Regions from separate parts of the Homo sapiens genome. Here all the other regions are linked to region 3. Evidence: promoter capture Hi-C in 16 types of primary human blood cells and fetal thymus (Javierre and others, 2016). All regions are on one chromosome and are shown on one strand. The core of a region is centred on a gene start or on the middle of the fragment in contact, and the rest is flanking DNA. Distances in the headings are between cores, read along the strand shown.

Region 1 (6,625 bases), core at 931-3,430, 260 kb before region 3:
ACTAATTTTTAAATTTTTTGTAGAGACAGGATCCTGCTATGTTGCCCAGGCTTGTTTTCAACTCTTTAGGTTTCCTTAGAACTGGTCTCCAGACACAACTACTTTTTCCAGGTCATCCTATTCTGCCCTGACCCTCCTATGTTCTGAAAGATGGGCTCTCATGCTGGAAAGCAGGCTGACGTTTTCTTAGCTCCCAACCATTAGTTACAGAGCATTCTAACTTAACTTCGTGTTAAAGCCTTTCCTCTGACATTCAGGCTATCTGACCACACAACTGTCATCCATCAGCCCCTAGGTCGTGGTCCTTCAATCAGGACTGGGCACCAGCTCACAATATCCTCCCCACCCCAACTCCCACCATTGCCAAGTTGATTTCACTGAGTCTTAAGAATTCTATCCCCAAACCCAGAATCCATCCCTTCTACTGCACCCCTGATGCCCCTTAGCTCAGGCCTTCCTCTTTTCTTACTGAAAAACTAAAATAGAGTCATAAGTTTCTGTGCCTCCAGTCTCTTTCTAAAACTTGTATGGAATGACTCCTCTTAAAAGCATTCATTAGTCCCTTCGAGCCAGAGGAAAGTCCAAATTCCTTAATGCAGCAGAATATAAGAGCCTTTATACGTTTCCCCATTTTATTATGAAAAATTTCAAACATACAGTAAAGTTGAAAAGATCAAACTGCAAACATCCATACACCCACCACTTGTAGAATCTACAAGTATTAACATTTTGCTATACTTCTTTTATCAGCTGTTTATCATCCATCTATCCAAACATCAACTCATCTCATTTTTGATGCATTTCCCAGTCAGTTGCAAACCTCAGTGCACTTCCCCCTAAATACTTCAGCATACATATCTTTAGTATTCAGGGTTCATCATTCTTTTTGGGGATGAGGGTAAATAAAATTTATTTACAGTGAAATGTACAAATCTTCAGTGTGCTATTGGATGAGTTTTGGTAAGTGAACACACTCAGGTAACCCAAACCCCCATCAAAATATAAAATCTTTCCATCTCACACAAAGTCCCTCAGGCCCCTTTCCAGACAATCCCACCCAAATCCTCCCATAGGCAACCGCTGTTCTGATTGTTTTCATGTATTATTAGTTTAGCCTACTTTAGAACTTCAGAAAAATAGACTCATATGGTATGTGCTTTTTTGTGTAAGGATATTTTACTCATCATAATTGTTTATGTTGTTGAATGTATTAGTAGTTTGTTAATTTTCATTGCTGACTAGTGTTTCATTATTTGAATAAATCTGTTTGTCCTCTCCCTTACGGATGGACACGTGGGTTATTTCAGATTGGGGCTGTTATAAAGAAAGCTCTAAGAGCACTGTTGTACAAGTCTTTTTGTGCCATATTTTTATTTCTCTGGGGTAAATACCTAAGAGTAGAAGTGCTGGGTCACTGGATAGGTATATGTTTAATTTTATAAGAAAGTGACAGAGCTTTTCTTATACCAACAACGTGATTGTACCATTGTATACTCCCACCAAAAATGTATGACAGTTCCAGTCCCTTTATAATTTGAATATTGCCCTTTCCTCACTCAGCCTCATCTCTCAATACTCCCTCTTCCTCACCTCTGCTCCTCCCAACCCAACAAACTTTCAGAACTTTAACCTTTTTGCTGCTTTATTCTCAGGAGGTTCACACATGCTGTTTCCTCTGCCTGGAATATCCTGTCTCAGTCTTCTGCTTGACAAAATGAGTTTACAATTGTTAAAATAACACCTCTTCTGCAAAGTCCTCCCTGTCCCTGCCAGTCACCCAAATTTTCAGATTACCATACATGTGGCCTGAAGCTCTATTTTGTTGCACTTATCATAATGTATTGTGATTATCTTGGATGTGTTAATCTCTCCACTAGACAGACAAGGCAAAGAGGGAACCACTCTTTTCTGCCGTAGAAATGATACTTGTTATTCCTACCAGTGTAAGGATTTTGGATACTGTGAACCTATAAAAACAACATTCTAGGCTGTTCTCTAGGTAGGGCACCTGAAAAATGAGTCACCAAAGAAAATAAAACTAGCAAGGAGAGCTTCTTATTTATCTTGGAATCCTCAGGGCTAATACAGTGCTTAGCACGTGGTAGATGATTAATAGATGTTTGGCAAATTAATAGCACATCCAATCATGTTGCTTCCCTACTTATAATTCTCCTCTAGCTCTTGATCATCTACAAGATTAAATCTCTTAATATGATGTACAAGGCCAATCATAATCTGGAACCCACAGTGAACTCCTGAGAGTGCCTGGCCAGTGTTCTCTGATGCCTCTGTGCTTTTCTGTATGTACCCTGTACTGGAATGTCCATCCCCTCTTTAACTGGTAAACTCACAGCTCTAAGTTTGGTGTAGATCAAACCAGGACTTCTCTGTGAACTTTCACCCAACAGAATGCCCACCCCCATGCCCACCTTGATTTTTTTACCCTGATTATATCCCACTTGTATGCATTCTAGTCTTTCTTGCTAGGACTATATTCTCTCACAGGGCAAGGATTTTATTTTTATTCATTGTACGAAACACATTGGCCTAGTTTATCATACTCTTCACCCTATGCTAAAATAATGATTAGAGATGTATTATGTCAAGTGATCCTCTTTCCCTCCCACAGCTAACTGGACCAGGAGAGGACACCTGGAGTGCATTCTCCCTTGAGAATCCGAAGTGATGACCTAGGAACTGTAATCAAATGGTGCTACACAACCATGTAGACTAGGCTGATGGCTGCTACTGTCAGCCATGTGTGTTCCAGAGAGACAGACAGAGAGGCAGACAGAAGAAAGACCTGGTAACTTCCAACACCCACAAAATCTAGCTTCACTTCCTGCTGTTGGGTTCTGGGAGGTTCCCTTGTACTTATCCAATACACTCCTTTTTACTTAATCTAATCTGAATTAAATTTCTGTTCCTTGCACCCAATGACTCTAAGTCACCTTGCACCAATATGTCTGTAGAACATATGAGCTCAATAATATGAGTTTCAATAATTTTAACAATTACAGGCTTTAATAGAAACTACCCAGAACAGAGTGTTAAAATATAATACTAAAAATTACACTTGATGAGTTAGAATTTTTAAGATAAGGACTAGATTTACATTAAAACAGTACTTGCATTAGTATACTGAGACCAAGGAAGAAAAATGGTCAAATACCTATTTGGGAAAGGACAGACACAGAGAAGTGGACAGGGGTACATGGCTTGCACTGTTACCTTTCTTGAGCTGACGGATCAGTGTTAGGGAGGACAGGAGCCAAGATCTCTGCCACTCAGAGCACTCATTACCTGGGAATGTTGTGAAGATGGTTTTCACCTGGGATTATCAGAAAGCAATCACAGAGAAGAGGATTAAGCCCTCAAACGGGAGGAAACACAGGCTGGAGTCTTTCATATCAGATGAAATAAAAGCCCAGCCACAGACAAACCTGGCAAGGCCTGTGAAGAAGGTAAGTTTCCAAGAAGGACCAAGGAGCATGCCAGCACCAACTGATGAACTGAATTACATCAGGGGAAAACTTACTCCACCTTTGGTGTGAAACCAGGGTCAGGACTAGGGTGAGGGGAGTGAGGCACTTGCCCTGAGCACAAAGGGACAGACTCAGAATTACTGATTTTTTCTTGGTCTTGGGCTGCAGGGTGGCTGAGCACAACACTGTTACTGATCCTGTCTTTATTTTAAATTCTAATATTTTGTTCACCATGGTTGTTTGCATTAATTTTTATTTTTAAAAAACTGAGGCCAGGCATGGTGGCTCACACCTGTAATCCCAGCCGAGGTGGGCAGATCACCTGAGGTGAGGAATTCGAGACCAGCCTGGCCAACATGGAGAAACCCCTGTCTCTACTAAAAATACAAAAATTAGCCAGGTGTGGTGGCACACAACTGTCATCCCAGCTACTCGGGAGGCTGAGGCAGGAGAATCCCTTGAACCCGGGAGGAAGAGGTTGCAGTGAGCCGAGATCATGCCACTGCACTCCAGCCTGGGCAACAAAAACGAAACTCTGTCTTTAAAAAAAAAAAAAAAAAAAAAAAGCATACAAATATTCTTTATCTTGATTACTGAGTCTTGAGTGCCCCTTAAATTCTGCACTTGAGGCGAGTGGCTCACCCCAGTCCTGGCTGTGTGAAAATGCTGTATGCACAAGAGAGAAGTCTGCCCAGGCACTGATCTCTCTGTCGTCCTCTCACTGTGCTTCCAAAAGACCTGAGAGGTCAAGACATTCCTCCGGGTAAACAGAAACCTAGTGACTCCAAGGAAGTGAGAGCTGGGTAATAGGAAGAGAAACAAAACTGAGGAGTCAGTTTCTGGCTCTCAGTGGAAGCTCCAGCGATGCAGTAAGCTCCAGGGATGGCCGACTCAGCCCTCTTGGACAAAGCTGAGATCAGACTTGACTCAGGCTCCAAATAAAACATAAAGAAACCCAGCTTCCCTGAAGCAGAGACCTAGCATTAACAACCTAAAAACCAAATGAGTATAAACTCATCAACTAGATTGATAATAAATGGGTACCAGGCAAAACAGAACAGAGACAGAATGTGGGCTGGGGAGGAAGGTGGGTCTTCCATAACCAGAGTCTTGGGGGCCTCAACAAAGGGTTGAAGAGAGAGGCCACGAGGTCAGTGCAGAGCAGTCAGAAGCCTAAGGAAAAAATATCTGAAGCTTAATTAGGAAAGTGCTCATTCATTCAGAAGCCAGGACAGGGCACCAGGACAAACCAAGGTGTCACACGGTTTAGACAAGATATATGCTAAAACAAGGAGGAAAAGTAGCTCTGAAGAAGAACAGGGAATCCCACCTGACCTGGAAGGAAGACGAGAAGCATTCCACCCAAGTATCTAATGCTAGTGGTAAGGCTACATGTCAAAAAATATTGAGAAGAGGGAAAGGAATGGGAGCTGAGTAATCCATAAGCTGCATCGGCAAGTAGTCTCAGTGAGGCAGAAAGACCTCTGGTAGAATGTTGGCTGGCGTGTGCCTGGAAAGCAATGTGGCAATATGCATAAAAACCCAAGAGATCTTTCAACTCCTAAATTCCACTTCTAGGAATCCATCTTAAGGAAATAACCTGAAATATCCACAAAGTATGTACAAAAATAGTTAAGACAGGCCAGGTTTGGTGGCTCACACCTGTAATCCCAGCACTTTGGGAGGCCGAGGCAGGCAGATCACTTGAGGTCAGGAGTTCGAGACCAGCCTGGCCAACATAGTGAAACCCGTCTCTACTAAAAATACAAAAATTAGCTGGGCGTGGTTGCGGGTGCTTGTAATCTCAGCTGCTTGGGAGGCTGAGGCAGGAGAATCGCCTGAACTTGGAGGGTAGAGCAGTGAGCTGAGATCATGCCACTGCACTCCAGCCTGGGTGACAGAGCAAGACTCCATCTCAAAATAAAAATAAAAATAAAAATAAAGTCAAGACAAAAAAACTATAAACATAAAAAATAGAAGTCACTTAAATGCCCAATGAAAAGAGATTAGAGCCAGGCATGGTAGCTCAAGCCTGTAATCCCAAGCACTTTGGGAGGCTGAGGTGGATCACTTGAGGTCAGGAGTAGGAGTTGGAGACAAGCCTGGCCAACAGTGAAACCCCATCTCTACTAAAAATACAAAAATTAGCTGGGTATAGTGGTGCACACCTGTAATCCCAGCTACTCGGGAGGCTGGGGCAGGAGAATTGCTTGAATCTTGAATCCGGGAGGCGGAAGCTGCAGTGAGCAGAGATCACACCACTGCACTTCAGACTAGGTGACAGAGTAAGACTCCCTCTCAAAAAAAAAAAAAAAAAAAAAAGAGAAGAGAAAGAGAGAGAGATTGGGGCTGGGCATGGTGGTGTATGCCTGTAGTCCCAGCTACTTGGGAGGCTGAGGCAGGAGGATCGCTGGAGCCAGGGAGTTCAAGGCTGCAGTGCACAATGATCCCACCTGTGAATAGCCACTGCACTCCAGCCTGGGCAACATAGCAAGAGCCCATTGCCTTAAAAAAATAAGAGAGAGAGAGAGATATTTGGCTTAAAAAAAAATAGTTTGTTTATACGAAAGAACATTCTATAGCTAGTAAAATATTGAACATTAAATGTACACGACGGGGATGGTGGCTCATGCCCATAATCCCAGTACTTCTGGAGGCTGAGGCGAGAGGATTTCCTGAGGCCAGGAGTTAAAGACCAGCTGGGCAACATAGCAAGACCTCATCTCTACAAAAACAAACAAAATAGCTGGTGGTGCACACTTGTGGTCCTAGCTACTCGGGAGGCTGAAACAGGAGGATCACTTGAGCCCAGTGATCATACATTAAACTATGATACATACATAGTTCATACATTGAACTATCATTGTGCCACTGCACTCCAGCCTGGGTGACAGGGCGAAATTCTGTCTTTACAAATAAAAATACGTATAGCAAAAAGACTACAAAAAAAAAAAAAAAACCACACACACAACAAAATGCTGTGACTAAAACAAAACAAACAACTTCTAAGACTGATTTACTTGTGGATGATGATCTATGTTCTATAATGACCATATATTATCTTTTTTTCTATGAAAATACATTTTTGGTTGTTTGTTTTTAGAAAAACCTGTCCTCCAAACTTGAGGCTTGTTAAGAAG
Region 2 (7,466 bases), core at 149-2,648, 300 kb after region 3:
ATAATCTTTTCAAGGTTCATCCCTGCTGCAGCACGTATGAGAACTTCATTTCTTTTATTGTATTTGTGGTAATATGTACACAACATAAAGCTTATTTTAATCAATTTTTAAGTGTACAGTTTAGTGGCACTAAATAGTCACGTGGTTGTGCACTCACCACCATCATCCATCTCTAGAACTCTTCCATCATCCTAAACTGAAACTCTGTACCCGTGAAACAACTCCCTCATTCCCCTCTACCCAGCTCCTGGCAACCACCATTCTACTTTCTGTCCCTGTGCACTTGGGAGCATCACCTTTCTGGGACATCTGCAACGGTTCTCTGGAGGATTGTCTCCCCTTTTTTAAAAATTTATTTTCTTTTCTTTCTTTCTTTTTTTTTTTTGGTAGAGAAGGGGTTTCACTTCATTGCCCAGGCTGGTGTCCAACTTCTGGGCTCAAGGAATCTGCCTGCCTTGGCTTCCCAAAGTGTTGGGATTACAAGCATGAGCCACTGTGCCCCGCCTGTGGTCTCATTTTGGAGGGCAAGAGGGATAGAGATAGCCATAACCTGGAGAATATTGAGATGTGGACAACAAGGATGACAAAATTTGGTCCTATGAGAAATCATCTGTGAGGAAGAGTGGAGAGAACTGAGCTTGTTCAAGACAGTGAGGTCCTGGGATGATCTCAATTCATGTAAGAAAACCAGGAAGCAAGGAGGTTTCAGTTTATCAACAGATTTAAAAGGCGCAAGCCTTTTGATATAACTAGAGAAGAGAAGACTCAGGTGATCACACAGACTGTCTTCACCCAAGTGAAGGATGATTATGTAGGAAAGTGGATAGAAGATGCTGTCAACAGAAATGTAAACAGAATCATGTTAACAATTTTTCAGTAGGCACTTTTTTTTTTTTTTTTGAGATGGAGTCTTGCTCTGTTGCCCAGGCTGGTGTGCAGTGGTGCGATCTTGGCTCACTGCAGCCTCCTGGGTTCAAGCGATTCTCCTGCCTCAGCCTTCCGGGTGGCTGGGATTACAGGCATGCCATCATGCCCGGCTAATTTTTGTATTTTTAGTAGAGACAGAGTTTCACCTTGTTGGTCAGGATGGTCTCAAAACTCTTGACCTCAGGTGATCTGCCTGCCTCAGCCTCCCAAAGTGCTGAGATTACAGGCGTAAGCCATCACACCTGGCCAATTTTTAAATTAATAATGAGAGGCTGGGCATGGTGGCACACACCTGTGATTCCAGCTACTCAGAAGGCTGAGGTGGGAGGATCGTTTGAGCCCAGGAAGTTGAGGCTGCAGTGAGCTGTGTTCACACTAGTGCACTCCAGCCTGGGTGACAAAGCAAGACCCTGTTGAAAAAAAAATTTTTTAATAATGAGATATCTGACATTCTTTTTTTTACACTTGGTCTCTGAAATCAGGCTGGCTACATGTGAAGTGCTCTATAGCTACCTGCGGTCACTGTATTGGACAGTGCAGGGTTGGAAACTGGACTTAGGAGTCAGGGCTGGGTTCAAGCCCCACATTCCATCCCTTACTAGGCTGGGTAACTAGGCACATTACTTAGCCTCTCCTATTTCTGTTTCTTCATCTACAAAATGAAACTAAAAATAGTACCTACTTTATAGGGTAATTTTGTGGATTAATGGCACATGAAGCATATGGTGCATGTTCAGTAAATGTTGGCGATTATTAGCAGTAAATTTGGTGGTTATTGAATTAGTGACATTGCAGTATCACTGTTAGGGTGACCTCCATTCCCATCAGATGATGTGGCTTGAAGCTATTCCAAACGGGCAAGGTTAAAAAACAATAGGCAAACTGGGAAAACCTATTTGCAACACACATGAAAACAAAATGTTGTTATTCTTGCTATGTAGGAAGTGCTTGCAAATAAATAAGAAAATGAATACCAATGGAAAATTCAAAAGAAACAAACATCTGAAGTGATTTTTTTTAAAGACCCACTTTAAATAAGTTCAACTCTCCTTGGAATCAGACATAAAAATAAACAAAAGACATTTTTTGTTGTTGTTGAGTAACAGATCAACAGCCAGAATTTGGTGGCACCTAATATTGAAGAAGGTGTGGGGAGATACCTTCTCTTTTTAAATAAAGATTTCCTGAAGTTTCCATTGTTATATCTGACCACAGACTATCCAGAGAAACAAGCTGAGTTCTTGCTTCAAGGAGGAACTAGCCAGAGAGCCTTTTCTACCCACTTTTTCCCTTGTCCAGATAAAGCTAAACAGCCAACAAACCCCTCCTAGCAAGTTGACTTTTTTCTTGTCATGTGTGCAGACTCTGCACATTAGCTTTGCTAATAGTCCTTTACCACAGGTGTTGACATTTCACGTGGCTTGAAATAGCCCCCAGCATTGTTCTACATTTGGACAGGGCTGACATACTTAAGCCACAATACCCCCAGAATATTATTAGGCTTCTGGCTACCTCCTTCAGGAATGTTTTATCTGCCAGCAGGATTGGCTACATAATTTTTGGGGCCCAGGGGAAAATGAAAATATGGGCCCCTTTCTCATAAAAGGATGAAAAAAGCCCTTTCATTTTTTCTACAGTCTCTCTCTCAACCTGTCATGATGTTTTTATTTACTATTTATTGTTGTACTCCCTTGGACATGGAGATACTTCAGAGGTCAGTGCAGGCCCTCACAGATGCCCAGGACCATGCCGCAAGACAGCATGCATTTTCCAGTTTGGGAAAGCTTTTTTTTTTTTTGACACGGAGTCTCACACTGTCACCCAGGCTAGAGTGCAGTGGTGCGATCTCCGCTCACTGCAAGCTCCACCTCCCGGGTTCACACCATTCTCCTGCCTCGGCCTCCCGAGTAGCTGGGACTACAGGTGCCCGCCACCATGCCTGGCTAATTTTTTGTATTTTTAGTAGAGACGGGGTTTCACCATGTTAGCCAGGATGGTCTCGATCTCCTGACCTCGTGATCCACCCGCCTCGGCCTCCCAAATTGTTGAGATTACAGGCGTGAGCCATGGCGCCCGGCCCAGTCTGGGAAAACTTGATGGGGAGTGGGGTGAAGAGACTAATGCTTTTTTTTTTTATTCAAGATGGAGTTTTCACTCTTGTTGCCCAGTGCAATGGCGCAATCTCGGCTCACTGCAACCTCCGCCTCCCAGGTTAAAGTGATTATCCTGCCTCAGCCTCCCATGTAGCTGGGATGACAGCTGCCCACCACCATGCCCAGATAATTTTGTATTTTTTTTTTAGTAGAGACGGGGTTTCACCATGTTGGCCAGGCTGGTCTCGAACTCCTGACCTTAGGTGATCCACCCACCTCGGCCTCCCAAAGTGCTGGGATTACAGGCTTGAGCCACCACACCCACCCTATTTTAACCAATTTTTTTTTTTTTTTTTTTTTTTGAGACGGAGTCTCGCTGTGTGGCCCAGGCTGGAGTGCAGTGGCACAATCTCGTCTCACTGCAAGCTCCACCTCCCGGGTTCACGCCATTCTCCTGCCTCTGCCTCCCAAGTAGCTGGGACTACAGGCGCCCGCCACCATACCCAGCTAATTTTTTTTGTATTTTTAGTAGAGACATGGTTTCACCGTGTTAGCCAAGATGGTCTCGATCTCCTGACCTCATGATCCGCCCGCCTCGGCCTCCCAAAGTGCTGGGATTACAGGCGTGAGCCACCGCGCCCGGCCCCATTTTAACCAATTTTTTAAGTGTAGTTTAGTGGCACTAAATATAGTCACGTGGTTGTGCACTCACCACCATCATCCATCTCTAGAACTCTTCCATCATCCTAAACTGAAACTCTGTACCCATGAAACAACTCCTCCCTCATTCCCCTCTACCCAGCTCCTGGCAACCACCATTCTACTTTCTGTCCCTGTGCACTTGGGAGCATCACCTTTCTGGGACATCTGCAACGGTTCTCTGGAGGATTCTGTCTCCCCTTTTTTAAAAATTTATTTTGTTTTCTTTCTTTTTCTTTTTTTTTGATAGAGAAGGGGTCTCACTTCATTGCCCAGGCTGGTGTCCAACTTCTGGGCTCAAGCAGTCTGCCTGCCTTGGCTTCCCAAAGTGTTGGGATTACAAGCGTGTGGTCTCATTTTGGAGGGCAGGAGGGATAGAGATAGCCATAACCTGGAGAATATTGAGATGTGGACAACAAGGATGACAAAATTTGGTTCTATGAGAAATGATCTGTAAGGAAGAGTGGAGGGAACTGAGCATGTTCAAGACAGTGAGGTCTCGGGATGATCTCAGTTCAGGAGGTTTCAGTATATCAACAGATTTGAAAGGAGCAAGCAGGCTGGGCGTGGTGGCTCACGCCTGTAATCCCAGCACTTTGGGAGGCCGAGGCGGGCGGATCACAAGGTCAAGAGATTGAGACCATCCTGGCTAACATGGTGAAACCCCGTCTCTACTAAAAATACAAAAATCAGCTGGGCATAGTGGTGCGTGCCTGTAGTACCAGCTACTCGGGAGACTGAGGCAGAAGAATTGCTTGAACCTGGGAGGCGGAGGTTGCAGTGAGCCGAGACTGCGCCACTGCACTCCAGCCTGGCAACAGAGCGAGACTCCGTCTGAAAAAAAATAAAAAATAAAAGGCGCAAGCAGTGTGATATAACTGGAGAAGAGAAGACTCAGGCAATCACACGGACTGTCTTCACCCAAGCGAAGGATGATTATGTAGGAAAGTGCATAGAAGATGCTGTCAATAGCAATATAAAGTGAATCATGTTAACAATTTTTCAGTGGCCACATTTTTTTTTTTTTTTTGAGAAGGAGTCTTGCTCTGTTGCCCAGGCTGGAGTGCAGTGGCGTGATCTCGGCTCACTGCAACCTCCAACTCCTGGCAAAACCCTGTCTCTACTAAAAATACAAAAATTAGCCAGTCGTGGTGTTGCACACTTGTAATCCCAGCTACTCGGGAGGCTGAGGCAGGAGAATCACTTGAACCTGGAGGGCGGAGGTTGCAGAGAGCCGAGATTGCATCACTGCACTCCAGCCTGGGTGACAGAGCAAGACTGTCTCAAAAAATAATCAAACACATTTTTTTTTTAGAGTCAGGGTCTTGCTCTTTCACCCAGGCTGGAGTGCAGTAGTGGGCTCAAGAGATCCTCCTGCTTCAGCCTCCCAAGTAGCTGGGATTATAGGCATGTGCCACCATGTCTGGCTAATTTTTTTATTTTTACTTTTGAAGAGGTAGGGTCTTGTTCTGTTGCTCAGTCTGGTCTTGAATTCCTGGTCTCAAGCAGTCCTTCTTGAGACCTTGGCCTCCCAAAGCGTGGGGATTACAGGCATGAGCCAGGGGTCCTGATCAGTATTCTTTTTTTCAAGAATAAATTTGAATATGCTTCATTGCAAGGTATATTGTTTCCACTGAGCACCTAGGATTTCTCAAGTTCTTTGTATATTATATGAGTCTTTCACAGCAATGTTAAGGGACAGGTGAAATAAACATAAAATAATTCCTGGCCGGGTGCAGTGGCTCATGCCTGTAATCCCAACACTTTGGGAGGCCGAGGCGGGTGGATCATCTGAGGTCAGCAGTTCGAGACCAGCCTGACCAACATGGCGAAACCCCGTCTCTAGTAAAAATACAAAATTAGCCGGGCATGGTGGCACATGCCTGTAATCCCAGCCACTTGGGAGACTGAGGCTGGAGAATTGCTTGAACCCAGGAGGCGGGGGTTGCAGTGAGCTGAGATCGCGCCACTGAACTCCATCCTGGGCAACAAGAGCAAAACTCTGTCTCAAACAAACAAACAAACAAAAAATTCCTCTTTACAGAGGAGGCAATTAAGACCCATTGTCAATCACCTAGTAGGCATCGGGACTGGGGTTTGAAAGCACATGTCTCTAAAGTCCATGCTTTTATTTGTAATGCCAAAAGACTGGAAACAATCTAAACACCCCTTGATGGGAACCAGTTAAATTATAGTAGTCCATACAATGTAATACTCTACAGCCGCAAAGATAGATAAAAATGAGGATACTCTCATATACCGATAAGGAAATGTCACCAAGATAGGGTGTTAAAGCGGGGGAAAAACCCAACAAACGTGTAGAACGTGTACAGACTGGCACTAAATATGTTAAAATGGAGTAAGGAAGGGTATAGATTTGTTTTAGCTTGTATGTGTAGAAAAACAACGTTAGAAGGATAAACAAAAACCTTATAACAGGGTTATCTATTTAGGGTGGGGGAAAGTGGGCATTTGGGGGACAGGGACAGAAGAGATGTACATCTTTTCATTTTTTTTAGTTTTAAACATATAAATAAATTATCTGTTCAAAAAAGCAAATGCATATAAACATTTTTTTAAGCAACATGAAATTAAACAAAACTGCTGTCCCTTCCTTCCACTGTACCATGTGCCTTAGACATCTTTGGAGGGCAGTCTGTCCTCTTTTCCAGTGAGTTGCACAGGGCAGCAGGCCTCAGGACACCCTGGCAGCTCTAAGGATGGCTTCAGCACAGCCTGGGGAAGGAAGCCCTGCCAGCAGGCAGCGCCAGGCCAAGTGTACCCTCTTTCCTTATCCCTGACTTAGAAAAACAAAACCGATAGGCAAATCCACTCATCGGCATTTCTGAATCCAGTTGTTAACCAATCCTCTTCCTGCCCTTTACTCTCCTTTTCTTCCTTTTTCCAGAAAATCCTGGAAAGCTCTGCAGCTACTTTGCAAAGTGCTTTACTAGCTCTGGCTGCCTTGTTGTTTTCCTTTTCTCATTTGGCCTGTGTCATCCTCTCAGGCAAGTACTGCAGTCAGACTTCCTGCCAGCTTGCCTGCTGGGTTCATCTGTCTTTAAAACACAAAACAAAACAAAACAAAAAGCCTGTATTTTCATAGAACCTACAAACCTCAAATTCGAAGTTATTTTGTCCAACTCTCCACCCAGAGCAGAAGATCCTAGTTGTAAAATTTAGCAGAGTAAATCCACTTGGTTTTAAAGCCCAATTCTGTGGTTTCACTTTGCCCATCCAATCAACTCGGAGTAACAGCTCTCATAAAATATTTGCTCTTGTGAAGAATCCCACGGGGCAGGTCTATTTGTGTGTGGAGTCTAGTGGTGCAGTCAGCACCAGTAAATTTCCATTCAGTAATTCAGTGACTGTTAATCGACACCTAATATGTATCCATCACTGTCTGAGGCCCTGTGCTAGGGACAGAAACAAACACCGAGACTCAGCCCCTGCCCTCAAATCTCTAACAGCCATGTTAGGATACCTTCAGGTCATCAAGCCAGGTCATTAGTGCCTGGCCTAATTTGTTTTGTTTTTAAAAAGCCATTTGCAAGGTATCAGTTATATCACTGTGTTGTGGACATTTTCATGGTGAGCTATGTGTCGGAAATATGATTTATGGGAATGGCTTTCTTTTCTCTCTTTTTTAAGGTTTTGGGGAAATAGCTTTTATACTGCAAAGATAATGGCCAAAGCTCAAACTCTAGGTAATGTAATCCATATAAGATTAATTAGCCTTTCAGGGTG
Region 3 (7,006 bases), core at 1,533-4,032:
AGCTATTTTTGAAGGACTTGTGTTACTCAGTTTCTACAGGAATTACAAGATAAGAAAAAAAAAATCATATTTAGTCTTATGCGTGCCTACTGGCTAATGTTCACATATGCCAAACACTACTCAATAACATAAAATAATGTATGAACTTATTCTCTGGAAATGAGTGATGCCCTCTGCTCTAAGTAGACCATTTATATTAAATATCATAAATGTATAAAGGACATTCATATTCTTATAGTGGGAATACTTGCCTTTTTTGTTGATTTTATAGCATCCATTGTATTTTGGTGAGTGAAATAATAAGAATTTTTTAGTTTAGTGTTGTTTATTATAAAAGCTACAGCTACTGGTAGAAGCTACTTATGTGAATATTTAGTCACTCCAGTTACTTACAGGAAATAATACTACCACTTCAATGCCTTCCCAGAAGACCACAGAATCTCCACATCAGCTTTGTCTTTGGAAGCATGGTGATTTTTTTGGTAGAAGTTTTATCTTTAAATGATATGTAGCTTAGCCAAAATTTTAAAACAAATAGCATTGATTCACCAGAAGATTTCTAGAAGGTGGGATAAAGTCACCCTGGACGAATGTTTGTCATATTGAATTAGCATGACTTTGAGATATAATTATGTTTGTTTTTCCCTCCCACTGTCCACTTACATTTATTCAGTGGGCAGTTCTTCCCCTTCTTCAGATGTAAATTCAGATAGAGTCATGACTTTTCTGTTCACTCTTAGGTTTTAAAGTCCTACTGTGTAGTCCCTTAAGGTCATAAAACAGTGTCATTTTAGTAAGTAATATATCCAGTCAAAATTGCAAGCTTGATTTACAGTTGATGCTTCTTCCCTCACTCACCTCTGGCCTATTGCAAGTAGGAAGCTGGTTTCTGGGGAAAGGGAGACCATGGGCTTCTCTTCTTTTTCCACCTAGGTTTCCTTCAATGTTCTCCCCCTGCCCCAACCTACCATGTCTGGGTTGTAGCAAAGAAGAGAGTTAAGGGGAGCAGGAAAGTTGTTACCTGACTGTCATTGCTGTGGTGGTAGAGGATCAGCCCTATGTGACCCTGACAGACTAAAGTTGATTCTTGTGGGCATTCTTGTGGGTTCCTTTGTCAACCTCATCACGCTACTCACCTGAGGTTCCTCTGGCAAGGCAAATGTGTACTCCTTTTTCAGCCTCTAGGAATTTGGTGACTCTTTGAGGTTCTCAGTGCTGAAGTTCATTGCCTTCCTCCCAGGCCTGTTGGGCAGGACCTAAGCTGTCTCATGGTGGTCCACATCTGCTCCATGGGAAACACCTGCACGTTCTTTGTGCTGGCAAATTCTGTGTATGCAAGCTGATCCCTCTGCAGCCATTATTCTCCGCCTCCCACCTCCACCCCAAGCTGCCTCGGCTAGCCTCTCTCGGTTCAGATTTCTCATGCATGAATCAGACATTAGTCCACGGGGACCCTCAAACTACGTATACTGCCAATGGGAGTCTAAATTGGTACCTTGATGCAATCAACCCAGAGAGCAATTTGGTAATAGCTAACAAAGTTGCAGATTTCGCAGCAAATTCACTTTTGGGAATCTGCTTGGTGAATCCATTGCACATGATGTTCATTGCTGCTCTGTAAGGCCGTTAAAGTAGAAATAACCTCTCTCACTAAGGAATGTAAAAACAAATATGGGTCAGTCATACAATGAGCAGTGAAAATTATCTAGCGATTGACCAAATGGATAAATCTTGAGAGTATAATTTTGAGAGAGGAGAAAGGTGCACAATGAGAGGTACAACTATGATTCCATTCCATGATATGTCTAAACATGCAAAAGAAAATATTATTTATGGGTATGCATATAAGGACATGCATGGACATGATATACAACATTCTCAGCACAGTGATTGCCACTGGGGAGGGAGACAGAATGAGATGGAGGAGGTACGCAGGGGCTTCTGCCTATATGTATTGTTCTATTTAAAAAAGAATGAATCATTGATTACACCTCAATAAAGCTGGGAGGAAAAAAGAATGAAAGCAAGTCTGATAAAATTTCAAGCTAGTGGTCGGTCCACAGGAATCTGTATTACTCTATTTGAAATATTTTCATTATTTTACTTAAAAAGTAACAGAAGGGAGTCAGGGAATGAACGCTGGCTGTCCGGAGTCCATCACAAGAGCTGCTACTACTCCAAGCAGACACTAGTAAATTTTGCTAGGGCCTCCTGAAGGCACTTTTGAGTCCAGACAGTCATGGTGCCAGACCCTATTCGGACATCCCACTGGCACTTGAGAGGAAAGGAAAGGAGTGCCGGGAACGTTCCCATAACTTAACGGGTTCCATTCACGTCTACAGCAGGGGAGGGCTCATGTTAAGGAAGCCCAGGAATCCAGCATATCGCCTCATCCTAGGGCCCCCTCTCACAGGAGGCCACGCCCAAGCAAGCAGAGCGTGGCCCCAGCAAGCGCCGAGCTCCCGCAAGGAGACCAAATAGCTTCGGGGTTTTGCCACTAGCTTAGCACAGGCCCATAAGCACCGGGGACTCAAGGCACCTTTGTAGAAACAATGAGTGACTGGAGTCCCAGGTCTTGCCACTACAGAGGCGCGTATGAACCACGGTTTAACACTACGTCTACGCCGAAGTTCGGGTTAGTCAGAGGCCACGCCCACCGCAGGCCCGAAAACACCAGCCTGCACTGGCGCGCCGGATTGTGCGCAGGCTCCACCTGCCACGCACGCACGCCTTGCCCCGCCCCTTCCGGAGGCTCGCCGTACGCATGCGCCCTCCGTCCCGCGCTTTGTTGCGAAAGCGAGGGGGCGAGGTGCTGCGGTGCTAGAGCGCGGCGCGACCGGACGCTGCGGGCGGGGAAGAGGATGGAGACTGTGGCGTCCGCTGCAACGGTTGGGGCTGCGCGTGAGAAGGTGGCGGTGTAGGCACCTGCGCTCGGGGAAGGCTGGCGGCGGCGGCCGAGCCATGGCGGGAGACCCCCTTCTCTGGGCTCCCTGAAGTCTCGGGGAGCCGTGACCCATGGGATCGTTGAGCAGCCGGGTGCTGCGCCAGCCAAGACCAGCCCTTGCCCAGCAGGCGCAGGGTGCCAGGGCGGGGGGCTCGGCCCGGAGGCCGGACACTGGAGACGATGCGGCGGGCCACGGATTCTGTTACTGTGCGGGCAGCCACAAGCGCAAGCGGAGCAGCGGGTCCTTCTGCTACTGTCACCCTGACTCGGAGACGGACGAGGATGAGGAGGAGGGGGACGAGCAGCAGCGGCTCCTCAACACCCCTCGAAGGTACGTGGGGGCACGCACCCGCGCGGACCCGGACCCGCACCTGTTGGGCCTGGGGCCGAGCCGGCGCCTCGTGCGCTTGCGGGGTGCAGCGCTCCCCAGCCTATGGAGAGGGGACGTGCCCTTGACAGGGTGAATGTGGAAGCCGGCCCGATGCGGGGCGGACTGGGGAGCGCCTTGGGAGACGCCAGGTGTTCCGCATTTTCAACCACAGACGCTTCCAGGGTGTTGTTACAGCCCCAAGATGAGGATGAGAAACGCCAAGCCCGAGCTCGCGTCTCGTTAAACCTTAGAGACGCCCGGCTGGCTGGCCTTCCCAGTCCACCTTTGCCCTCTCAAGTGGGTAGCCGCAGAGTAAGTTGTTTTGCATCCGGTTGCCTTAGTACAGACACTAAATGTAATCTCTGAAATAGGCACTCTTATTGTCGCCCACTCAGTGGAGGGTAAGTAATTGCACACAGGAGTTCTTGTTAATTGTAAAGGTGAAGTTTATCAATAGTGTACATTTGTTCCTAACTAGGAACAGAGTCTGTGCAAGTTTCTAGTAGTTGATGAAGTCGTTGACCGTGGATGTACTGTATGTAGGGCGGTGCTGCTGCAGCTTGTTTAACCCCTTTTTTTTTTTTTTTTGGATGAGTTGAAAGATGGAATATTGACTTGTGACCTGGAATGTAGTTTATAGGTAGAATATATGCTTACACAAACAATTTGGTTTTTCTGCTTTTGTTTTTAAAGGTTATTTGGTAGGGTCACACATGAAATTTTTTAAATGATTTCTTTTTCTTTTTGAGACAGAGCCTTGCTCTGTCACTCAGGCCGGAGTGCAGTGGTGCGATCTCAACTCACTGCAACCTCCACCTCCTGGTTCAAGCGATTCTTGTGCCTCAGCCTCCCGAGTAGCTGGGACTACCGGCGCGCACCACCACGCCTGGCTAATGTTTTCTGTTTTTAGTAGAGACAGGTTTCATCGTGTTGGCCAGGCTTGTCTCAAATTCCCGACCTCAGGTGATCTGCTGGCCTCAGCCTCCCAAAGTGCTGGAATTATAGGCGTGAGCCACTGCGCACCCGGCCTAAAATTAAACTTTAAAAGCAGATTCAAAAAGGTTTTGCTATACAAGTGTTATATATTGTAAAAAAGGAATCATAGATTAAAAACTTAATAGTTTGGTTTATAAAACCTTTTGTACCTTTTTTTGTATGAATATTTGTATTTATTATACAAAAATGTACCCCTACTGTGAATACTATTCAGTAACTTTTTTAATTGTTTGTTTGATTTTTGGAGCTTTTTTCTAAAGGAGTCTCACTATATTGCCCAGGCTGGTCTCAAACGCCTGGGTTGAAGCGATCCTCCCACCTAAGCCTCCCAAAGGGCTGAGATTACAGGTGTGAGCCACCATGCCTGACCCTGTAACCTTTTTGAAGCGTCAGTGTAGCATAGTTTTTTTTTCCTTTGGAAAAATTTTTCTCTATTTTGAGACAGGGTCTCGCTGTGTCGCCCAGGCTGGAATGCAGTGGTGGGATCATGACTCACTCTACCTCGACCTCACAGAATCAGGCAATTCTCCCACCTCAGCCTTCTGTGTAGCTGAGACCACAGGCATGCACCACCACACCCAGCTAATTTTTTTATTTGTAGAAACAAGGTCTCACTCTGTTGCCCACCCAGGCTGGCCTGGAACTCCTGGGTTCAAGTGATCCTGTTGCCTTGACCTCCCAAAGTGTTGGGATTACAGGTGTGAGCCACCATTGCCAACCTATAGCATAGTTTTAAGAGTTCTGAGTTCTTGGCCAGGTGCAGTGGCTCATGCCTATAATCCCAGCACTTTGGGAGGCTGAAGCAGACAGATCACCTGAGGTCAGGAGTTCAAAACCAGCCTGGCCAACATGGCGAAACCCTGTCTCTACTAAAAATATAAAAACTAACCAGTCGTGGTGGCAGCTGCCTGTAATCCCAGCTACTCGGGACGCTGAGGCAGAAGAATGGCTTGAACCTGGGAGGCGAGGTTGCAGTGAGCCAAGATCGCACAACTGCACTCCAGTCTGGGTGACAAAGTGAGACTCTGTCTCAAAAAAAAAAAAAAAATTCTGACTTCTTGTCTGTATTCTGCACTTAATAGCCTTATTTCCCTCATATGTAAATTGGAGATATAAATACCTGCCTTTTAGGCTTTGACAAATATGAGAACAAACAAATGCACAATGTCTAGAATGTAAGCATGCAGTAAATATGTCTCCTTGATGAATTGGCCCCTTTATCATAACAAAATGTTCATCCTTCTTTATCCCTAGTAATTTAGCCACTACCACATACATACATACATATATACATTTATTTATTTATATTTAGGGGGTACAGCTGCAGGTTTCTCACATGTATATAACAAGTAGTGGTGAAGTCTGGGATTGTAGTGTATCCATCAGCCACTTTCTTTTGATAAATGTCTGAATGATATCTTATTTTCCCTCCTTTCACTTTTTACCTGTGTATATTTAAAACAGATATCAAGTAAACAGCATATAGTTGAGTCTTGCTTCTTTTGTCCAACAGGACAATCTAACCTTTCAATTAGTAGTTAGACCACTTATATTTAACGTAATTATTGAAATATATGTCACAGTGCATTTGAAGGAGAGAAATCACACAGCAATTTGAATACAGGAAATTTAATATAAACATTATTAACAAGGCACAGAGAATTAACTACTGAGGACAAAACGCTAAGGTAAAGAGATCCCTAGAAAATACATGTAGTAGTCAGTACTTCTAAGGCTGAGGCAGAATAGCCACAGAAGGAACAAATTTGGAATAGGTGCCCCCACCCCTTTCCCAAGCTAAGATTCAGATGATGTTGAAGGAGGTGTGGCTGTAGCCCACTGGATGGTGGAAAAGTTTGCTCAAGTGTGGTAAGCTGAGGCTGGCAAGTAGGACACTGCCTACTAGGATGCCAACAAAATTATTTGGAGGCCTTTTGGCCCAGAAGGCTAAAGATATTTACTATCTAGACCTTTACAGAAAAAGTGTACCAACTCCTAGACTACATGAGTGGACTGGAATGGAAAGTTTTTAAGGCAAACCTTTATCGGAAAATGCATATCAGAATTTAGTGTCTGTATATTACTGGAAGATGCTTGGATTATTCAGCCCAATACGGATGCAGGGTGTAAGAAAATACTAAGACGGGCCAGGCGTGGTGGCTCACGCCTGTAATCCCAGCACTTTGGGAAGCCAAGGCAAGCAGATCACTTTAGGCCAGGAGTTTGAGACCAGCCTGACCAACACAGTGAAACCCCGCCTCTACCAAAAAATACAAAAATTAGCCAGGCTTGGTGGTGCACGCCTGTATTCCTAGCTACTTGGGAGGCTGAGGCAGGAGAATTACCTGAACTCAGGAGGCGGAGGTTGTAGTGAGCCAAGATTGCGCCACTGCGCTCCAGCCTGAGCAACAGAGTAAGACCCTGTCTCAAAAACTAAACAAATAAAAATTTAAAAGAGAAAGTATTAAGATGTTGAATTTTGTGTGTTGGCCCTAGTATATACTTCCTGAGGTTGTCTGGTGTGCTCTCCCACATCAACAGACCACTTTATGAGAAGTTTTAGCTTTTAGGCCCAACTTCCACCTCATACCTTTGTCAACTGCATGTTCTACTTTTACATTTACGAGACTGTTAAAACCCACACTGTTCTACAACCAGATCTTGAGTGTTTTGTCCGTAGCTTGTCTCTAAAAAAT
Region 4 (7,477 bases), core at 1,956-4,455, 310 kb before region 3:
CCTGTCTCTTCCAGGCATCTTTAACTGTTGATGTATTAGACCCAAGCAGGCATTTTTGTAGGCTGGGAGGCAAATGAATAAAATAATGCTTTCTACCCAATCATCTCCCCTAGCCCATTTCAATGTCCCAAAGTTTAATTAACAGAACAGGGAAGCTGCCCTGGACTGAACTCAACACTTTGGAAGAGTCTTATTTCTTTAAAGGCAAAGGGAAATATATGAAATAAAGAGGGAGGATAAGGTTCCAAACTGCAAAAATCAGGGCCAAGTCTAGAAAAAGCGACAAAGGGCTTTAGTGGTTTTGGAGATCCATCTCAGAATTCAAGGAGGCCTCTCCTTTTGCCAGCCATTTGCGATACAATTCTTTTCTTTTTTTTTTTTTTTTTTTGAAGCGGAGTTTCACTCGTCACCCAGGCTGGAGTGCAATGGCACGGTCTTGGCTCACTGCAACCTCTGCCTCCCAGGTTCAAGCGATTCTCCTGCCTCAGCCTCCCCAGTAGCTGGGACTACAGGCGCACACCACAATGCCTGGCTAATTTTTTGTACTTTTTTTTTTGAAAAACAGGGTTTCATCATGTTGGCCAGGCTGGTCTCGAAATCGAACTGACCTCGGATGATTCACCCGCCTTAGCCTCCCAAAGTGTTGGGATTACAGGCATGAGCCACCACGCCCGGCCACTGCCATACAATTTCAAGGGCAGCTTCCTCCTGTTCCTCAAGGAACACTGTTATCTCTGTGTGCCTCTGGAGTCCAATCCTAAAGCAAACCAGGCTTTCCAAGACTTCTCTGTTGTCCAGAATAACAAAGAGGTGTATTGAGTTTCAAACCAATCTAGATACAAACCTGCAGCCTGAGGTGGGGGCTGAACAGTGGCCCTCTTCCGGGGTGTCAGCGCTGGCTGGATGGGAAGGATTCCTGGGTTCGGCTGAGTCTGCCCAGCTTTAGGCCTCTGGCGGGGTGCAATTGAAGTCTCTGTGGTGGGAATGGGATCTGTCAGTCTAGAAAGGGAAAAGAGAAAGGTTCATATTAAAGTATGGGAAAAATGGAAGGGAGTGGGCAGAGGACACAATGCTTCCGCTTCCACATCGACCCAAACCTTCCAGGTCTGTTTAATCGATGCTTCCCAAAGAATCTCCCACAGGATGCCATTGTTACTAGACCTTCTGAAAGTAGGCTTGGTGGGCAAATACATTTTTAACACACTGATCAAAATATACTGAGTGGCTCTCCTTCTAGCAGAACTTTTCATGTGCGAATATGCAAGGACAATCTCAAAAAGAATGCTATATAGTATTCTCTTTGCATTCTCAAGCTTATTTCTTCTTGTGGCGCTTTTACCTAGTACCTCCTAGGATTTCCCAAAATACCCTTTGGGTAATAATGCAAAGAGAGGTTTGAGGCACATGGTTTTCAGATGCGAAGAGGATTCAAACTTGGCTGCAACTAGCTGTTAAAGTGGTCTCTCTAAAATGAAAAGCATGCAGATGAGTGAATCCAACATGGGAACTGGAAGGAAAAAGTAAATAATTCAAGTCAAAGGGTTTAAAAATAAAAAGGAAGTGTCACAGAAACTCCATTTCTTCCAATATACATACTATCTTTTTTCCACAGTAACAGAAGTTTTAGCTGGGCACAGGGTCACCCAGAGTAAAAATCACATTGCCCAGTCTCTTTTGAAAACAGGTGTGAACCTGTTTCTAAGTCCTGGCATTACATGAGATGTAAGAAGATTATCAGGTGGCAGTTTCCAGAAACCATAAGAAATAACTGGTTCAAGTCCTCTGTCTTCCTCTTTGACTATTCCTTGATCCTGCTGCTAGGAGCAGAGATGTTGCCATATTGATCCATGCAGCCATAGCTACACTGTAGGAATGGTGATGTGGTTAGCTTGAAGAAGTCTAGATCCCTGAGGGCCTCATGGAGCAGAACTGCCATGCTGGCCTTGGACTACTTACCTCCAGACTTTGTTTACTTGAGAGAAAAAAATAAACATCTATCTTCTATACGCAGCTGTCACTTTGGACTTTCTGTAATTCACAGCCAGATCGACACTTTCAAACTAATATAGGGAAGACTGCTTGCTCCCTGTGAGGGGTGCAGAAGCCCAGGTGCTAACTTCCACTCATTTACAGTAGTCCAGGCAGCTAGCTACTACCTAACTCAGATCAGAGTTGGCCGTCCTTTGAAACTCCACTTTACAGAGTATAACTGAGGTTAGGCCAAAATTAATAAGTTTCAAGAATATTTCCAAAGCATGTTTTGTCAAAATATTTCCAAAACAGCCTCCATGAATGTAAAACAGGAAGCAAAGCAGCTGGCCTCATGTCCTTCCCATGACATACCTCCAAGGTCCATCCTGGGCCCAGAAACTTTGCACTGGCAACCTGTTAGAGGGATGCTCTTGTGCCGGTTGGGGAAGTGGTGATATAAAGGCTATCACATCTTGGGGGCTAGAACCTGGGCAAGGGATGTGGGAAGAAAAATGGGACACGTGCTGGAGAAAAGAAGAAAGGTGTAAGAAAGAAAAAGCTGGCTGGGTGTGGTGGCTCACACCTTTAATCCCAGCACTCTGGGAGGCTGAGGCGGGTGGATCACTTGAGGTCAGGAGTTTGAGACCAGCCTGGCCAACATGGCAAAACGCCGTCTCTACTAAAAATACAAAAATTAGCCGGGTGTGGTGGCACGCGCCTGTAGTCCCAGCTACTCGGGAGGCTGAGGCTGAAGAATCACTTGAACCCGGGAGGCAGAGGTTGCAGTGAGCCAAGATCACGCCACTGCACTCCACCCTGGGTGACAGAGCAAGACTCCATCTCAAAAAAAAAAAAAGAGGAAAAAAAGAAAAAGCCAAGGGTGAGGGAGGTGAGCAGGCTTCTGTAGAAACCCAAACAGCACAACCTCCATGTTGATCATCTCTTGAGGGGAACATATTAGAGCAATGGGATCTGGAGCCAAAGAAAAATATATCTGAGTTCTAGCTCCTCACTAAGTAACTGTGTGATAATGGGTATGTCACTCACCCTCTTTCAGCTTTGGGTCCTTTATGTGTAAAAGGGAAAAACATATGCCTACATCATAAGGCAGATGTGAACATCAAATGTTATCAGTAACTGTCAATCTGTTTTATTAATTGTAGAATGTCCAAAATATTAGTTTGTATGGACTTCAATGAGTATGTTTTGTGGAGTGGAGTGGGGAAAGGGATCATTGCTTACCCTCTGCACATATCATGTTTGAGCCTAGTACAAGACAGCCATGAGCACAAAGGACTAAGCTACTTAAATCAGCCCCAAAACAACTTCCAAAGAGGTGAGCATGGCAGAATTAGTGAAGGAAATGGACAGACTACAAAGTAACAAGTTTTGTTTGTTAAGCAAGTTTGCTACGTTTATTAAAAATCAAAGTCTCACTACTTTAGAGGCACATCTAAAATAACTTCATGTACACAGCAGGCATTTAATAAATATTAAAGAACTTTTTAAGATACAGGTGTTATTTGACTGTTCAATTAAAATTCACATATTCCCATCCAGGGTACTTTGTTGACGCAGTTTGCTGCTAGCACTTACTCGTGATGGTGGTAGAAAAAAGAGGAGTATAAATATCTCCTGCGCTACCTCTAGAATCTGCCATTTGGAAGGGGTGGCAGCCATGCGAAAGTGCTTTGTAGACCTTCATCTACAGGGAGCATAAAACCCCAATGCTCAGCTGCTGCATTCCCAAAATGCAGCACTAAATGCAGCACTGCTGTGTGTTTGCCCTGGTGCCATGCTTCCCATAGGTTGCTGCCAGCCCTAACCTCCAACCCACAGGAATTCCTAGGAGATGAGGGACTATCTGCTGGCTGACTGGCACAAGGACCCCAACACCTTTGGTGAGTCTTACTTAAGTTGTGAGACAGTCTAGGTCACTTCCACCCATGCTTCTTCTCCCTCTGTCTGGGTCAGACTTGCATTGCCTTCCGATGGCACTCCCAGCCTTTCCTGGCTCCCTCCCTGTTTTCCCTCACATGGGCATTTCCCCAAATAACATCTTCGTTTAATCCTCTTTTGGCATCTGCTTTTTGGAAGAACCTAGGTTGAACAGACTGTGATTAGCTAAGACCCAGAGAGTCTTCTGCTGTTCACTGACCTGGTGCTTTGACCTGCATTTTCCTAATGTGGTTGGAGCCATAGAAAGTAAGAAGGAAAGGGAGGTTGAGTGTTAGGGTGGTGAATGCAGCTAACCAAAAGTCAGGACACATGTTTAGGATATTTTTTACATTTTTTAAAAAGAGATAGGGTCTCACTGTATTGCCCAGGCTGATCCCAAACTCCTGACCTCAAGTAATTCTCCTGCCTCAGCCTCCAGAGCAGTTGGTACCACAGGCACGTGCTACCATGCCTGCCTAATGTTTAGGATACTCTTGTACTAGCAACATTCTTTTTTTGTTTTGTTTTGTTTTGTTTTGTTTTGTTTTGTTTTTGAGATGGAGTCTTGCTCTGTCGCCCGGGCTAGAGTGCGGTGGCGTGATCTCAGCTCACTGCAACCTCCACCTTCCAGGTTCAAGTGATTCTCCTGCCTCAGCCTCCCAAGCAGCTGGGACTACAGGTGTGTGCCACCATACCCAGCTAATTTTTGTATTTTTAGTAGATGGGATTTTGTCATGTTGGCCAGGCTGGTCTTGAACTCCCGACCTCAGGTGATCTACCCTCCTAGGCCTCCCAAAGTGCTGGGATTATAGACGTGAAACACCACGCCTGGCCGTACTAGCAATATTTAAAGTCTGCTGTTGCCTCATCTCTGAATGCCCCTGAGCCTATTCCCATGCAAAGAAAACAGCTTCAGAGTTCTTGATTCTCTTTCAAATGTAGATCACAATATTTCATGATATTCCTTTTTGCATTCCCAAAGAACCGTTTCTGCCTAGGCAAGACAGAGCTTGCTTTCCTGATCTGTGCAGCCCCTGGTCATGACAGCATACATAAGAATCAAGAAACACAGGCATCATTCCCTGCTGCTGTGGCAATCCAAGGAGGACATGTGTTCATGAAGGCATTTCTTACCTGGCCTTTGGCTGGGTCTTTTTTGCAGCTGCCTCACTGGCTTTCACTGGTTCAGGAAGCTTTGCAGGAATGGGAGAGTTCTATAGAATTGCAAACAAAACAGAACAAAACAAAAGGACATCACAGATTTCTTTGTTAAAGAATAAGCAGCCTGACTGGGACTGAGAGCTGATGGAAACACATTTTGGGATCTTCTGGAGCAGCTTCCAGGCCCTGAGCTCTGTCTGGTAGAGGGAAGGAAAGTTAACCAAATGCATATCAGACTCAGCCACAGTCAGGGAAGCAATGTATCTGAGAAGAGGAGAGAGTAGCTTGTGTGCAGCACACATTCCCGGATTATTCTCTACCTTCTGTACCATGGTGAGTCACTGGGGCTTGATCTCAGTACCCTTCTCCTCCTATAGCACAGCTTAGAAGTGATGCTATGAAAGGAATGGGAAGGAAATGTCTGTAGCTGGTATTATTCTGGATCCCAGACAGATCTTCGTTCGAGCTTATCAATGTGTCAAACCAGGGTGCACTGAGTCTGCAAGTTAGAATGCTCAGAGAAAACCACAGCCACCTCTGTGTATGGCTGCTGAGCCAGTACCCTTCCCAACATGTGAGGCACTACTCAGTCCACAAGCCAAGGAGAGTTCCTCTGGCTTGAAATCTGCACTATCCATCTAATAATGCCTCATGAGGGAGCACCAACTAGCTGTCCCTAACCCTAAAACAAGTGCTTACCACTACTGAGTACCAAATGACATAAGACTTGTGAGGTGTACTTTTAAAAAACTAGCTACCAATCTGAATGCTTCCACTTAGATTTCACATTATTTAACTTTATGAATGGGAAAGTGGGACTACAAAAGAAGACAGTCATGTTTGGTTACTGCACAGTATCCCTCGTTTTAATCTGGGAAACCAACACACAATACTAGTTATAAAACTGGCCTTTTAGGAGGGTCCTCTCGCTTCCTTCATGTTTCCAGGTGGGGGGAGATTTTCTGCTAGAAAACTTCTAGCACTTCCTCTTCTTCAAGCATTCCTCTCCCAAAGGAGAAGAGTTGACTTCTGTGACTGTTAAGACTGTAGAAAAACTGAGCTGGTCCGGTTTGCTTTGCCCTCCTTCCTTTAAAGAAGAGCTGGTCCCCCAGGAATCAGGTGTTTACATTTCAGTCATGTGGGTCTAATGCTAGGGAGCCTGACTGGTCAAGCTGCATCTTCTGACTCAAGCTTATTAGTAATAAAGCCAATATTCTGAGCTCCACATGGATGAACCCCACATCTGATTCCAAATGTGAGAGTGAAAGAGGAGCAGCACCCTTAAGTCCCAGCAGTGAAATCAAAAGTTCATTATTGGAGGAACTAGCAAGAACATTTCAGATCAGAATCTATTATTATAGCATCCATTAATAAAATATTTAAGAAAAATAAATCACAATATGACATGAAAAATATGCAAGGATTTTTAGTAGAGATGGGGTTTTGCCATGTTGGCCAGGCTGGTCTTGAACTCCTGACCTCAGGTGATCCATCCTCCTCGGCCTCCCAAAGTGCTGGGATTACAGACGTGAGCCACCATGCCCAGCCGTACTAGCAACATTTGAAATCTGTAAAAAGGACATTTGCAAGCATTTTGCTCTGAAAACTGAGTGCAGAGTTTAGGATTACTAAATGTAGAAAACATTCTTATGGCTTGATGTGCTGGAAGGACAGAGAAAGAGGAGTGTGAGTTATAAATGGCCAACAGCAGAAGCAAAATCAAGAAAGCTCTGCTGCAAGGAAGGAGAACGGGGACAAGGGGCGTAGGTTCTAACAGGCATGGGGGCATGTCCAAGGCATTGCCTCGGGAAAGTAGCCTGCCTGTAATCACCTCCAGGTGACTACAACAGGCATGTGGCTCTCAGAGAACTAGAAGAGTTGACAGACATGAAGTTGGTCAATCTTCATCCAAAGCGTCCAACTCAATCCCTAGGGCATTTTTTTGTTCAGTACAATTGCTTCAGTTTTATAATTAAATTCCATGGGAAAACTGGATTCCCTTTATGGCAACTGCTTCACAGTTAGCTTTGCTTGACTACCCCCAGTAGATAAAGCAAGGGACATCTAAATTCATTTAAACAGCTGATTAACACCCCAGGAGCTCAAAATGGCAATTTGATAATGTTTACTCCCTTTAAATAGCACCATTCACGTACCTGTACATTTGGAATTGGGCACTCTTTCTTGAGTAGCTTAAATGAGAAGTAGGACACCTGGTAAATATCCGGCCTTTTGTCAGGGTCTGGTTCCAACATATACCCTAAGGCAAACATGTGAATTTATTTAATAATATTCCAACAGTTATTACACTAGCTAGGAAGCATCATTCCTCTCTCTACTCCCAATGTTTTGTTTTTAAACTTTTATTTTTCATAGAAGTCAGACAGTATAATTATCCCCTTTTCTC

Evidence for each region. Contacts are between HindIII fragments. The CHiCAGO score rates a contact against its expected background, and 5 or more counts as called.
Region 1: a fragment that was not itself captured here is called in contact with the fragment with the promoter of GMCL1 in region 3 in 3 of 17 cell types (naive CD8 T cells, activated CD4 T cells and total CD8 T cells); the score reaches 7.2 in naive CD8 T cells.
Region 2: a fragment that was not itself captured here is called in contact with the fragment with the promoter of GMCL1 in region 3 in 1 of 17 cell types (neutrophils); the score reaches 5.3 in neutrophils.
Region 4: a fragment that was not itself captured here is called in contact with the fragment with the promoter of GMCL1 in region 3 in 1 of 17 cell types (non-activated CD4 T cells); the score reaches 5.4 in non-activated CD4 T cells.

Annotation. Positions count from the first base shown.
Region 1 is chr2:69,568,593-69,575,217 of GRCh38, forward strand. The region is part of intron 2 of AAK1 (AP2 associated kinase 1); the gene reads right to left. Among named protein-coding and RNA genes, the nearest start is that of SNORA36C, 52 kb to the left of the region's middle. The HindIII fragment of the contact is 4,994 bases long and covers 1-4,677 here.
Region 2 is chr2:70,125,923-70,133,388 of GRCh38, forward strand. No RefSeq gene overlaps it. Among named protein-coding and RNA genes, the nearest start is that of LINC01816, 4.3 kb to the left of the region's middle. The HindIII fragment of the contact is 2,621 bases long and covers 89-2,709 here.
Region 3 is chr2:69,826,878-69,833,883 of GRCh38, forward strand. It overlaps GMCL1 (germ cell-less 1, spermatogenesis associated), which reads left to right and starts at 2,783. Exons shown (of 14, transcript NM_178439.5): 1 at 2,783-3,275. The coding sequence starts at 3,016. It overlaps LOC124906021 (a long non-coding RNA gene), which reads right to left and starts at 2,654. Exons shown (of 2, transcript XR_007086846.1): 1 at 1,137-2,654. It overlaps ANXA4 (annexin A4), which reads left to right. Exons shown (of 13, transcript NM_001153.5): 13 at 1-235. RefSeq lists enhancers at 1,819-2,740, 2,135-2,224, 2,741-3,661 and silencers at 2,635-2,864, 3,245-3,324, 3,272-3,447. The HindIII fragment of the contact is 7,336 bases long and covers 822-7,006 here.
Region 4 is chr2:69,519,990-69,527,466 of GRCh38, forward strand. It overlaps AAK1 (AP2 associated kinase 1), which reads right to left. Exons shown (of 22, transcript NM_014911.5): 9 at 7,227-7,330; 10 at 5,044-5,123; 11 at 845-999. It overlaps SNORA36C (small nucleolar RNA, H/ACA box 36C), which reads right to left and starts at 182; the gene lies at 55-182. The HindIII fragment of the contact is 3,789 bases long and covers 1,312-5,100 here.